2 separate regions of the Homo sapiens genome follow, and region 1 is linked to region 2. The links are contacts of gene promoters, found by promoter capture Hi-C in human tissues and cell types (Jung and others, 2019). All regions are on one chromosome and are shown on one strand. Each heading gives the region's core, a stretch centred on a gene start or on the middle of the fragment in contact. The rest is flanking DNA. Distances are from core to core; before and after follow the strand shown.

Region 1 (2,700 bases), core at 4-2,503, 210 kb after region 2:
CCCTCTGGAGTCCCCAGAGTCTCCCTTCCCACTGTGACAGCATCGGCTGTCTCTCCCGGTCTCAGGTTGGACAGTCCTGGGAGAGAGAGGGTCTGAGTGACTTCATTCTGTCACTTCATTCATTAGTGACTGAAACAGGATTCTGTTAGCTGACTTCTGGTAGGAGCCAGGTTGGGAAGCCGCTCTGAGGATGCTGGGAGGGCCAACAGCTGCAATTATTATTATTATTGTTGTTGTTATTATTATTATTATTATTGAGACAGAGTCTTGCTCTGTCTCCCAGGCTGGAGTGCAGTGGTGTGATCTCGGTTCACTGCAACTTCTGCCTCCTGGGTTCAAGCCATTCTCCTGCCTCAGCCTCCTGAGAAGCTGAGACTACAGGCTTGCACCACCATGCCCAGCTAATTTTTGTATTTTTAGTAGAGATGGGGTTTCACCATGATGGCCAGGCCGGTCTTGAGCTCCCGACCTCAAGTGATCCACCTGCCTTGGCCTCCCAAAGTGTTGGACTTACAGGCGTGAGCCACCACGCCTGGGCTTGCAATTAAATTAGGGTGCTGCACCTGGGAGGAGGAGGCTGTGCTAAGATAGGAGCTGAGGATGATGGGTAAGAATGAAAGATCCCAAGAACTGGACAGTGTGAGATTGAGGAATGAGGAAGGCCAGGGCTTGGTGCTGATGTGGAGGGAAAGAAGCCTCAGGTCTCCATGGAGAACAGCGACCAGTGATGCGGTCTTCCCTTTAGCGGAAGAGGGGCTGGTTTAATTTGCATAGCATTAATTAGCAAGAGTATCTAATTAGGACAACCATTACAGAACCACAGTCATAAGCCGATGTTGAATATCAATCAATTTTGGAGCCTCTCCATGAAATTGAAGGAAAAGTTGACCTTATTAGATAGAAAAGATTTCTAAATCAATTATTTCCCAGATTGAATGCACAAAACATAGTGATGTCAGGCAGGCACATCAGACCTTAATTCAGAAATTATGAACTTCAGATACTATCACCTTTTCCCTTTGGGGGTTTCAGCCAGTGACAGAAATCGTGAATGGACCACATATGTGTATAAACACACACACACACAACCATACACATATACTCTTTGTGGGTAACAGCTTGGTTGGGGAAGGAGCCTGCGCATCATTATCTCAGTTAAGCTAATATTTCAGTTTGGTTCAGTGCCCCTCCAGGTCTCTGTCTGTAAGCATAGCTTTCTCCTTTTTGCGATGACCCAAACAATAAAATACATTTAGAACTTCAAAGTCTCTGGGAAGATATACCATAATCATTACAGTTCTGGCCTGTTTTTGGAAGCTACAAGGCAGGCCAGGAGAGCAATTTATGTGGCTGGCTCAGAAGCTGGGGAACACACTCCATCACCCTCTGCACAGCCTCAGGGGAGGAAAGGCTGGAACAGCTCTAAGAAGCCTCGCTGCAGATATTGGAGGGCCAGCAAGGCGTGGCCGCCAGAGCAGGTGGGGTGCTGGGACACAGGCGGGGCAATGGAACCTGGAGGCAGACAGATCTGGGTGTAAAACCTGGCTTTTGCAAATCCTGGCTTTGCCATGGTGAGAAGTTAGGTAACATGCCCTTGGACAAGTTACCTAACTTCTGAGAGCTTAAGCTTTCTCCTCTGTAAGAGTGGGTTGACAATGCCATCCTTGCATGGTAGGCCCCTATAGATGTGCTTTATTACAGATTATTGTCATCAATGAGAAATCACAGATCTGTGAAGGGCTGGCTCGTGGCCTGGAGCAGAACAGGGACCACATGGATGGAGGCAGCTCTTAGGAATTCTATTGACATATTTTCAGTCTTTTTCTACACTAAAAAAGCTTAAAAATGAAATAATTGGAAATATACTACATATCGTTTTGGGGTCTGAGTTTATCACTTAATAGTCTATCATCAACCATTCTCCATGTCTTCAGATATTGTCTGCAGAAGTGTTTTTTGGTTTTTTTTGTTTTTGTTTTTGTTTTTGTTTTTGTTTTTGTTTTTTTTTAAGATGGAGTCTCGCTCTTCACCCAGGCTGGAGTGCAGTGGCACTGTCTCGGCTCACTGCAAGCTCCGCCTCCCGGGTTCATGCCGTTCTCCTGCCTCAGTCTCCCGAGTAGCTGGGACTACAGGCGCCTGCCACCACGTCCCGCTAATTTTTTGTGTTTTTAGTAGAGATGAGGTTTCACTGTGTTAGCCAGGATGGTCTCGATCTCCTGACCTCGTGATCTGCCCACCTCGGCCTCCCAAAGTGCTGGGATTACGGCCGTGTGCAGAAGTGTTTTTAGTGGCTGCGTAGTGTTCCATCACTGCCTGATCTCAAATCTACTTAACCACTTGAAAATTTGTGGGCATTTAGGAATAAATGACTTTAAAACATGACTCTCAGCTGGGCGCGGTGGCTCACGCCTGTAATCCCAGCACTTTGGGAGGCCGAGGCGGGTGGATCACTTGAGGCCAGGAGATCGAGACCATCCTGGCTAACACGGTGAAACCCCATCTCTACTAAAAATACAAAAAAATTAGCCGGGTGTAGTGGCGGGCGCCTGTAGTCCCAGCTGCTGGGGAGACTGAGGCAGGAGAATGGCATGAACCCGGCAGGCAGAGCTTGCAGTGAGCTGAGATCGTGCCACTGCACTCCAGTCTGGGAGACAGAGCAAGACTCTGTCTCAAAAAAAAAAAAAAAAAAATGATTCTCAT
Region 2 (2,700 bases), core at 2-2,501:
GAAAACGAGGTCAGACAGGTCAGGAGAGATGAGAGTTATGAAGGGTTATGGGGTTGGACTATATCATGTGGGTGATGGGGAGTCCCTCGGAATGGAGAGACTCCCTCAGGGCAAGGACGGTGTCTTCCTTCTTAAATTGGCAGCCTCTTCCCTCTGGACCTCCCCGTAAAGCCCAGGAGGAGGCGGAAGCCACAGGGGATGTATGGGTACAGAAGAAACAAGTCCCGACTCCTTCCTGGGCATGCAGGACGGCGCTGTGTTCCACAGGCCGCTTGAGTGTTCCTGGCTTTTGCCCAGCACTAACCCACCAAGCTGTACAAGAACATAATCTTCTGTTCTTCGTAGATGTTCATGGGGTTCACCAGGAGCTGAAAGAGACCTAAGGGCACAAGGTCAAGCCAAAGGCCAAAAGATGGGTCCTAGCCCTGGTCCAGCCTCTGCCCACCCCGAACTTTCTGCTTCCACACTCACCTATGGCCAGGAGCCCCCCAGCGCCTGCCCCCAGCAGGAGAGCAGTGACAGGAAACTCGCCCGGCTGGCGCCACAGGAACCAGCTACAGGAGACTGGCAGCCCCCAGGTCAGGAGCCTCTGCACCGCTAAGAGGGGGACAGGGTAGCTCAACAGCCCACTCTTCTGCCTGGGATGGGGCTCATTAGGATTCAGGGCTTGCAGGTGGATAGAGGCTGGGGAAACCTGGCATGTGAAACAGTAGGAACTTAGGGGACCCTGGAGGAGGATGAGGGAGCCTGAGGAAGTGGTATGGGTGTAAGGGACAGCAAAGGCAAGGGCTGGGCTGGGAGGCGGGAGGCACTAGACCAGAGAGGTGGTGGAGGCGCGGACACCGAGTTGGGGGATAGTGTGCAGGAGTTCCAGGAGGAGAGATGGGATGAGAGTGGAGGTCAAGGGATACTGGGTCTCTGCTGAGTGACTCACTGGTATGAGGCTGTTTTCTTCTTTGCCCTCTTGTGCCATTCTGATGATGTTTAATGTCCATGAGTCTGTTTTGGGGAAGCACCACTCATCCCAGGTCTCCTGAAGGACCTCCTTGGACACAAGGTTCTGGTGAGAGAAGAGAGGTGCTGCCTGTCTCTTCCGCTTCATGGGAAGCCTAGGCCTGAGCTCTGGGCCTTTTAATCCTTCTGCTCCGAGAAGTGGGGAAGGAGATTAGAGACCTACCTATCCCCTCTCCAGTCCTCGGAACTGGGTCAAGGATTCCAAGACATATGCAGTGAAAGCCCTTTGGAACCTTAGAATACGGTGAGAAATTCCAGGAGCACAGAAGTCAGCGGGCATCTCCTGGAGACAGGCAGACATTTGGTCTCAGCAGCCATGCCCAAAGTCATGAAGGATGTTGTGCACCCCTTGGGGGGAGAGGAGCCTAGCATGGCGAGAGCTGTGGTTCGCAGCGTGGGAGGTTTTACCCTGGGCTTGTCTTTAGCCACGGCCTACGGGCTTCTGGAGCTACTGGTGGAAGGCCACAGCCCCTGGGGTTGCCTGGTGGGCACCCTCACTTTGGCTGCCTTCCTTAGCCTGGGCATGGGATTCTCTCGCCAGGTCCGAGCCACTGTCCTCCTGCTGCTGCCTCAGGCCTTCTCCAGTGAGCTTGGCACCCAGGGCTAGGGGGCAGGTCCTGGGGCTGGTGCTGGGGCAGAAGAGATGCTGGAGGAGAGGCAGGGGTTAAGGGAAATATTCTGAAGGCTTATGTAAGGGACTTGCTGCCATGTTTGGGGCTGGGGTCTTGGTTCTAACAAAGCTGTCGCCCCCAGGGCAGGGCCGGACACTACTGTTGGTGGCTGCTTTTGGGTTGGTGCTTCAAGGGCCTTGTGCCAACACTCTACGCAACTTCACCCGGGCCAGCGAGGCTGTAGCCTGTGGGGCAGAGCTGGCCCTGAACCAGACCGCCGAAGTGCTACAGAGGGCCAAGCAACCTCTTGTCAGTAAGTCCCCCACCTCTACCACTGTCTCCCACGGGCCCCCCTCGCCCCCCTCATCCTGCATGTTCTACAGTCCTTTGGCCTCCTTCTCTGCTGGTGCTAATCGCGGAGCATCTGGGCCTGGAAGGGACTCTGGGCACAGCTAAACCCTCTCTCCTTGCTCTCTGGCCTCCTCCACTCCCAGATTAACGATCTCCCAGGCCCCAGAATCCAGGCTTCCCGCCTCTGGAAATGGTGGCCTCCTCTCTACTCCCTGCTTAAGGGGCAATGGTGAGAACCAGCCCCTAGAGGAGAAGACTCCAAAGTGCCTCTGTCCCTCACCCATCAGGTGCCCTGAACAAGATTAAAGCTATTGCCCGGAAGACCAAAGAGGTGGCTGACCGGGTCCGCAAGTTCTTTCGGTCAATCATGGATGGTGTGAAACACATAGGTAAGCACATTAGCATGTCTATCCCGGGGACTCAAAATGCACCCAGTCCTGGCCGGGTGCGGTGGCTCATGCCTGTAATCCCAGCACTTTGCGAGGCCGAGGTGGGAGAATCACTTGAGCCCAGGAGTTTGAGACCAGCCTTGGCAACATGGCGAGACCCTGTCTCTATAAAAAATAAAAAAATAGAAAATAAATAAAACTAGCCAGATGTAATGACACATGTCTGTAGTCCCAGCTACTGGGGAGGCTATGGTGGAAGGATCTCTTGAACCCAGGGGTTTGAGGCTGCAGTGAGCTATGATCGTGCCACTGTACTCCAATCCAGCCTGGGTGAC

Evidence for each region. The method cuts DNA at HindIII sites, captures the fragments that hold promoters and counts their contacts. A contact is called where the count stands out against the background at its distance.
Region 1: a fragment that was not itself captured here is called in contact with the fragment with the promoter of DCST2 in region 2 in 2 of the 25 tissues and cell types used here (dorsolateral prefrontal cortex and spleen).

Annotation. Positions count from the first base shown.
Region 1 is chr1:154,825,355-154,828,054 of GRCh38, reverse strand. The region is part of intron 1 of KCNN3 (potassium calcium-activated channel subfamily N member 3); the gene reads left to right. Among named protein-coding and RNA genes, the nearest start is that of KCNN3, 44 kb to the left of the region's middle. The HindIII fragment of the contact is 4,353 bases long and covers 1-2,700 here.
Region 2 is chr1:155,032,332-155,035,031 of GRCh38, reverse strand. DCST2 (DC-STAMP domain containing 2) reads left to right here and starts at 1,251. Exons shown (of 15, transcript NM_144622.3): 1 at 1,251-1,598; 2 at 1,768-1,938; 3 at 2,264-2,365. The coding sequence starts at 1,331. DCST1 (DC-STAMP domain containing 1) reads right to left here and starts at 1,208. Exons shown (of 17, transcript NM_152494.4): 1 at 1,178-1,208; 2 at 935-1,060; 3 at 472-597; 4 at 305-379. The coding sequence starts at 995. The HindIII fragment of the contact is 8,066 bases long and covers 1-2,700 here.